3 separate regions of the Homo sapiens genome follow, and all the other regions are linked to region 2. The links are contacts of gene promoters, found by promoter capture Hi-C in blood cells and fetal thymus (Javierre and others, 2016). All regions are on one chromosome and are shown on one strand. Each heading gives the region's core, a stretch centred on a gene start or on the middle of the fragment in contact. The rest is flanking DNA. Distances are from core to core; before and after follow the strand shown.

Region 1 (2,700 bases), core at 85-2,584, 1.1 Mb after region 2:
CCTGGCTAATTTTTGTATTTTTGGTAGAAACGGGGTTTCACTATGTTGGCCAGGCTGGTCTCAAACTCCTGATCTCAGGTGATCCACCCGCCTCGGCCTCCCAAAGTGCTGGGATTACAGGTGTGAGCCACGGTGCCCAGCCCACTGTCTTTTTTCATCAATGCTAAGAGAATTTAATTCTTTCCACATGAAGCGATTCTACTTCCTCAACACGTGTTTCGTTTTGTGACACAACAACTTGGAGGAGGTGAAATTCATTAACAAGGAATAAATATCTTCTCTTTATGGAGCCACTTCCTTAACCCCTCAAATCTTCCTAGACCACTTCCATCCAACGTAGAATAAGTGAACCATATGAAATTGCTGTTTTTGTGGGTCAAAGGCAATTGAATGGTAGTCTCACATGGTTCAACATCTGTATACAAGCAAGTTCTCTGATGAAAAAGCTGAGTGACTGCGAGTACCATTCTTAGAATTCTTTAGGAGAGAAGAAAGATTTCAAGGTAAACAATCTGACAAACTTATTTGTAATCAAACTAAATTCCAGGTGGGGCTGGCTTATAGTTCACACACATTAAAGAAATAGGGATTGAATCTTGCAGGAAACTAGCACTTTTCCCCAAGGGGGATGAGGATTTAAGTTTCCTTCATGGAATATGTTTCCAGTTCATTTGGTCCTGCATTTATTTTAGAAATTGTTTGATATTTGCACTTCACTCATTTTCCAAAATTTGTTCTGATTCCAGATTTCTCTGTTAAATTTCTATAAATTTGTTTATTTGCTATTTGCTTTGGAGAATAGGAATTATATGAATTTCTTGGCAAAACGGATGAAAATTCTAACCTACCATTCATTTGGGAGAGGTGTACATATGTTCACTTCCACAGCTGTAGCACATTTGTTCTCAGTTTTGTACTTTTGAGACACAGGAAGTATATTTCTTTAAATGTTCTCTCTGGAAATACATACGTAGAGCTACAGCCTGATGAACATTCCTTATACAAAGGAATGTACATCTCAGTGTAGTACTCGTCTATAATTTACTTTCAATGGTTTATGGATGTATAATAATCACAGTGAACCTTTGTTCAGCGCTTACTATATGTCAGATACTTTGCATGCACTATCATGTTTTGTCCTTATCCTGTGATGTGGGTCCTAGTCCTGACACACAACACAGGAAACTGAGGCACAGAGGTTAAGCTTCTCTTCCAAAGACCCACAGTTGTTATTATAATAATAATGCTAAGGCTGATGTTCAGGGCATCTCTAAAGCCTTCTGCTCTCTTATTTACAACACCATTCTACCTTCACATTGGCTACAGCTGATTCAGGCATCCCCTCCATTAATCCTTTTTAGTGAATGTTAGTTTTTGTTGTGGGTTCTTATTTTAAAGGTGATATTTTGGGCAAGATGTCTTGAAGGACTGATGGCAGGTGCATATTGACAATTCTATGCAGAGCAAAGCTTCCAAAAAGGCATGCTATGAATTCTGTCAATGTGGAAGATCGAGCAAAACCAGCTTCTCTTTGCAGCACTGGCATGCAACCAACCTGCTCACCTGCATCCTTACATCTTAATCTGATGAGCAGAGTCTGCAGACAGAAATCATTTTCAGCTCTTTTTTTTTTTTTTTTTTGAGACGGAGTCTCGCTGTGTCACCCAGGCTGGAGTGCAGTGGCTTATCTCTGCTCACTGCAAGCTCCGTCTCCTGGGTTCATGCCATTCTCCTGCCACAGCCTCCCAAGTAGCTGGGACTACAGGCGCCCGCCACCACGCCCGGCTAATTTTTTTGTATTTTTTTTTTAGTAGAGAAGGGGTTTCACCATGTTAGCCAGGATGGTCTCGATCTCCTGACCTCATGATCCGCCCGCCTCGGCCTCCCAAAGTGCTGGGATTACAGGCGTGAGCCACTGCGCCTGGCCTTCAGCTCTTTTAACTACTCATAAAAATGTTTTAAGTACATTTTTAACTAGCAGTACTTGTATAATATTATAATTATTATCTATTTGGTACCTTTAAATTTTCATGTTTATATGCAGAAATAAACAATATATTGTTCTTAAACATATTTTTGTGATATATTTTCTAGGACCTTATATTTATCAATTCAACAAATATTTAATGCCTACCATATGTCAAACTATTCTTGGCATAGCAGTAAACACAAGTGACAAAAATTCTGACCTCATGCTCTTAAAGTTTTTATAATGATTAGTTTTAAAAATCTTTATCCATAGAAGGCTAGGCAAGGAGGATGGATCTATATAGAAGCACTTCCTTACTGAGTTGAGAGGCTTGGGGAGAAATGCATAGTGCCTCCTTATTTGGAAGCCCCCAAAGTCATCTCAGACCCTACTTGGACATAAGTAAACAGCGAAGTAGGATCTGGAAGAGGTTTAAGTTGAACTTTCCTTGTGTGCATTATCCTCAAAGATATATTGCAATAAGATTTTTGTATAGAATGCAAGTCTCCTACTGGATTTTAGCCCTGTTTCCCATCGAATTTTATCTAGTCATATTTGACTTGTGTCAGATAAAGATTAAAACCTTCAGACACCGGGCCGCAAGTTGAAGATCTTTCTGAATCACAGTGCTAAAATAATAGGGAGGGATTTTCCGTAAGTGTTACCAAACTAAACTGGGATCCCCTTGCCTGGTGTAGCAAAGCCAAATACTGACATAGGGATTGCTGCAA
Region 2 (2,700 bases), core at 105-2,604:
CATTCCAAGGCACAACAAATCCATACTACAGTATTCTCCAACTGTCACTATTCTTATATTATAAATCCTGCCTGCTTATCAGTGAAGAAAAAAAAAAAGTCAATGGCATTAAAATGTAACACAAATCTCGGCTTCGATACTTTATCTAAAATTACTTTCTCAAAGACATACTTTCTAAAATGTTTGGAAAATTAAACAAAATTCTCCTCTCCCCATCCAACTAATGCTCAATTCTAACCACACTTCTGCTTTCCCTACAGCTTAAGTAATTTCACTGGGAGTATTTTCTCTGGAAGTTCTTAAGTGTACTTGTGGGCCCCTTTTTTTCCTCCTTAAACTTCTAATATCTTTCAGGCTGTAAATTCCTTAAGGGCGCCTAGCCCCAAAAAAGTGCTGCATATTTGTTCAATAAATGAATGCACATAAAAACAATGGATAACTATGACCTTTAATGTAGGAGCTCAAGCCATTTTATTATTATCTGACTTGACAGTCAAGAAAATTATCCCAACTTGCCAGAGGTATCCATTACTGTGATAAATAAACACTATAAAACGCTTTATAAAGTTTCTAAAGACTTTATAATCACTTGAAATAACGCCGCGTTGGCCGAGAGTAGGGTGAAAGAAAATGTTTCCTCACACTAAGCAAATGCCACCAAAGGAAAAGCTTTCTTTCCTGGAGAGAACTGCAACAGTTAGAAAGCAAATATCCACACTCTCCACTGCTCCCTTCTGGGAACTCTCTTTGAGGGTTCCTGCAGAAAACGAACGGGCCTCTGAGGAAGCTCGCCCGAAGGCCGGGCCGGGGCCCGGCTCCTGGCTGACCACTGGCGCAGCGGACGCCGCAGGGCGGGTCCCGGGAGCGGCGAGTTGGCGAGGCGGGCTCCGACTTGCTGACCTTCCCCACACGCCCGGCAACCCCGGCTCCCGCTGGCGGGCAGAGTCCACGCCTACCTGTTGTGCACAGGTGAAGCCAGACTTTCCCGTAGTCCAGGAGGAAGAACGGACCACGCTGTTTATCAGCCGACCCTGTGCCCCAGTCAGCCCCTTCTCGGCGGACTCCAGCCCTTAGGGTCAAGACACCTAGCCCCTCGACCGGTTCTCCCACCGGCTTCTTTCGCGATCACATTGCTGCCGCGACCACCCTCGGGATCCCCGAGCGCTCAACTCATACAGCGGCCCTGGTGCGTTCTCCTTCCCAGCCAACAGGCAGCCCAGACACAGCCCCCTCGCGCCCGGAGGTGTCCCCGCTCCCTGGATCCCCGACTGCCTGCCTTTGGGGGTCCTCCTCAGCTGAGCGTGCGTCCCGGTCCAGCAACGTTACCGGCTGCTCTGCTAACCCTAGCAGAGTCTGGAATTGCCGGCGGCGGCGACAGCGAGGCATTGAGGTGGGCGGGGCGCGCGTGGGGCGTGGCCGGAAAGCTCTCAGCGGCGAGCACCGCGGGAGCTAGCGATTGGGAGCGCGCCCTGCGCCGGGCCGCTGGTCCAAGGCCCCGCCAGCTGGCCGCCGAGCCATCGAGCGCCCACTCTGGCAGGCGTGACTGCTTCACCGTCGAAAGAGCGATGGAGACTGCGGCCCAAGTTAGGATTAGGACAGCGGTTTTTCAGTCCGGAGATTCCGGCCACAACTATTTTTGTCTGTTTTTATCGTAAGCCAGAGTCTTTGGGTGCAGCTCTGGGACACCTAAAGGGCCTGGAGAAATTCAGGCGGGGCCAGTGCTGTGGGGGTAGATGTTAGACGTGGAAGGGACCCTAGAGAGCCTTGACTGTGAGGACTGAGGTAAAGTGACTTGCTCAAGGTCACATACTAAGTCAATGGCAGAACTGAGACTAATAGCCTCTTACCTTGAGTCATGTGCGTTTTCCCACTACACTCAGCGTTTTAAATGTCATTTTTCAAGTTTCATTTTGAATCTATCTCCAGCTTACAAAAAGGTTGCAAGTATAGTACAAAGAACTTTTTTTCCCTGAATTGAGATTTAAATTGCTGACACCATGCCACATTGTCCCTAAGCACCTTCTACATAATCACAATATAACCATCAAAATCAAAACATTTACATAACTCGGCGTTTTACCAATTGTCCCAATAATATTGTTTATGGTAAAAGATTCCGTTCAGAATCAGGCATTGTATTTACTTATCATGTATCTTTCCTACTCTTCAAACTGGAACTCTCAGTCTTGCCTTGCCTTTCATATTCTTGACGCTGTTAAAGATTCCTGGCCAGTTATTTTTGTAGAATGGCCTTCATTTTGGGTCTGTCTGATATTTACTCATGATTACATTTAGCTAGGTATGACAGGACTCTAGAAGTGTTGCTGCTTTCTTCTCATGGCACCCTATCAGGTGGCACGATTTTAACTTCTCTCATTACAGATGTTTACTTTAATAAGGTGATGTCTGTTAGGCTTGTCCAGTGTGGTTACTTTTTTCCCCCCTTTGTAAATTAATAAGTATTTTGTGAGGGAGACTCTGAAACTCTCCTTTCAAGATATTTGTAAATATCTTGTTTCTCATCAAATCTTCAGTTAATGTATTTATATTAATTAGTATGGATCCAGAGGTTTCTATTTTGTTAAATGACTTATAATCCGTTTCTTTCTCTCTTTTCTCTCTCTCTTTTTTTTTTTTTTTTTCTTGAGACAGGGCCTCCTTTGTTGCCCAGGCCGGAGTGCAGTGGCTATTCACAGGTCG
Region 3 (2,700 bases), core at 39-2,538, 1.1 Mb after region 2:
CCCCAGAGTCCCTGGTTGGAAGGAGGGCACACTTACTATATGGGATGCATAGGTGCCAATGGTTGAAGTTGTGTTCATGCAGCATATCTACCCAGAATTGGTATGGTGTTGCCAGTGTAGGTGCTAATACTACTTAGAATGGTGAAGATTTGAGTACAGAAGCTTCCCTGAGAAGTTCTGTACTTTAGTCTTAATTACCATATATGGGGAAAAGTCTGTATCAAAAGGGCTGTGTATTCTTGACTGATCTTTGTGTCTCCCAACCTTTTCTCTTTTTCTTTGCTAGTTATGCCAGATGTTTCTAGTGTCTACAGGTATGATGGTCATAGTCACCACCATATCATAAGATACCTTCCCCCATTCCCTTTATCCTGACTTGGTATAAACAAGTTCCTTTTTCCTTTACCTTAACTGGGGCAGGTATGTATACAGGGAACCTTCAAATGGACTCTTAAAGAACAAAGGTCAAGCCCTGAAGTTTCCCATTGCAAGTGCATTCTAGCCTGTGGCACACCAAAGTATTTGGAAAGCTCTGCTCTATCAGTTATTCAAGGACTGAGGTTCCTTCCCTCCTAAGCAACCCTGTCCAATAAAAATACAGTAGAAGCCACAAATGAATCATACTTGCGATTTTTAAATTTTCTAAATCAAGAAAGTAAAAACACAATAAATTTTAATATCTCTTATTTAACCCAATTTGTCCAAAATATTGTTTTAACATGTAATTAATATAAAATTATTAATAAACAATTTCAAATTCTTTTTTGCACACAAAGTTTTTGAAATCCAGTGTGTATCTTATACTTAGAATACATCTCAATTTGGACTAGCAAAAACATTTCAAGTGCTACCACATTGGACAGTACAGATCTAGAGGTTCATTTTTCTAGGACCTCAGAATCCTCGATCTTCAGAATCCAGTCAGCAGACAAGGAAAAGAGAGTACATAAAATATCTCAAAGGAAGTTTTAAGGATTCAACCTGGCACCAAAGTATATCACTTCTACCCACGTTCCATTGGCCAGTATTTAGTCCATATGACCTGATCTAACTAACTGCCCAGGGCACCTGGAAAATGTCATTTAGCTGTGTGCCCAGGAGGAAAAAAAAATAGGTTTGGCGAGTACAGAGTAGAGTCTTTACCACAGCATAAGGTATTATTATTACCATATTTTACAGATCAGGAAATTGATGCCCAGGCAGATTAACTGACACTCTTGTTAATGAGAAAATGTAAGTAGATGCGAGGTCTTCACTCTCTGGAGTGATATTTCTTCCATCAGACTGCCCTTCTTTCTTTCCTTTATTTGTCCTTCAACCTCCCCTTTAACTCTGTGCATGTAGATGCAGCTCTTGCAGTAAACCTATGTCTTCAATATTTTATCACATTGGCTCTCCTAGGCTGTACTCTGACTTAATGACAGTATCCTATTACTTCTGTTTTAGAAAATGATAAGCGCCCAGTATAATGAAGCAAATATGCCTTATTACTGGATCGTTTAACTAATAGTACTATTTTCAGCATTGCATTATCATTTTGAGTGGGCCTTTTCCTTCCTCATACTGAAGCTCCTCATTCAAAGCAAAAGATTGTTAAGGTCCTCATCAAGCCATTTCAATCAATGTATAAATTGTATTTTATGTTATAATGAACAGTCTGTTCAATTGAAGTTTTTAGCTTTTTAAAAGTGCTTAGAAGAATAGTAACAGAAGTGCTCTTAATGGTGAAATTATTGAACTGAAGTGCTTGGATAAGCTGTTTTATTTCTTAAATGAAAGGAGATATTTTAGATGGAGAAATGAGATAAATATTCCTCAAAGGAGACTGGTGGTAAAGAGTGACTGCTCTCCATGGATTACTGATTATAACACAAGTGTCCATCAAGAGCAGCTTTTATTGAAGACAGTTTAATTGGACCACTGCCCTTTAGCTTTAAATTACCCACGGCAAACTGGTTTAGAGTTTTTGTTGCTGTCTGTCTTATATTTGTGAATATGAAATACATTTACAGAGCCAAAAATTTAAAAATATGAAAAGATATACAGTGAAAACGCCACCTTTTATACTCCAATGCAGAGAGCTGGCCTTTCTAACAGTTTCTCCCTTTTGTAACCCAACTTTGTAGGTACTCATTCTTCTCTTCTTGCATATTCTTCTAGAATTTGTATATGCATTTATAAGCAAATGTGAATATATATTCTTAGTTTTCCTCCTGTTTTATCCTATACATACTGTTCTGCACCTTGCTTTTTAAACTTTATACACCATGAAGATCTTTCTGCGTCAGAATATAAAGTCTTCTTATTATCCTCATTCTTATAGTTGTGTAGTGCTCTACTGAATAAATGTACCATACTGATGAACATTTAGTCTGTTTCCAATCTTTGGATATTACAAACTGTATTGCAATAAATAAGCTTGAACATAAGTCATTTCACAAAAAATGTAAACATATTGCATACATAAATTCTCAGAAGTAGAATTGCTAGTCAATATATATAGTATATGCATTTGGAATTTAATAGAAATGGCCAAACTGCTTTCCACAGTGGTTGCACTAATTTACCGTCCAACCAGGAATACTTAATAGTGCCTATTTCATGTGCCTTTCCCCATAGATTGTGTTATGAAATTTTTTTTTGCTCTGTGTCTGAAAATGATATTTTAGTGTAGCTTAAAATTATATTTCTTTTACTGTG

Evidence for each region. Contacts are between HindIII fragments. The CHiCAGO score rates a contact against its expected background, and 5 or more counts as called.
Region 1: a fragment that was not itself captured here is called in contact with the fragment with the promoter of HEATR5A in region 2 in 1 of 17 cell types (M1 macrophages); the score reaches 6.3 in M1 macrophages.
Region 3: a fragment that was not itself captured here is called in contact with the fragment with the promoter of HEATR5A in region 2 in 1 of 17 cell types (M1 macrophages); the score reaches 8.3 in M1 macrophages.

Annotation. Positions count from the first base shown.
Region 1 is chr14:32,474,056-32,476,755 of GRCh38, forward strand. All of the region lies in intron 2 of AKAP6 (A-kinase anchoring protein 6), which reads left to right. Among named protein-coding and RNA genes, the nearest start is that of AKAP6, 150 kb to the left of the region's middle. The HindIII fragment of the contact is 265 bases long and covers 1,203-1,467 here.
Region 2 is chr14:31,419,196-31,421,895 of GRCh38, forward strand. It overlaps HEATR5A (HEAT repeat containing 5A), which reads right to left and starts at 1,355. Exons shown (of 36, transcript NM_015473.4): 1 at 1,277-1,355. HEATR5A-DT (HEATR5A divergent transcript) reads left to right here and starts at 1,563. Exons shown (of 4, transcript NR_110045.1): 1 at 1,563-1,782; 2 at 2,649-2,700. RefSeq lists a silencer at 816-935 and enhancers at 1,046-1,095, 1,526-1,675. The HindIII fragment of the contact is 6,619 bases long and covers 668-2,700 here.
Region 3 is chr14:32,500,479-32,503,178 of GRCh38, forward strand. All of the region lies in intron 2 of AKAP6 (A-kinase anchoring protein 6), which reads left to right. Among named protein-coding and RNA genes, the nearest start is that of AKAP6, 170 kb to the left of the region's middle. The HindIII fragment of the contact is 2,256 bases long and covers 161-2,416 here.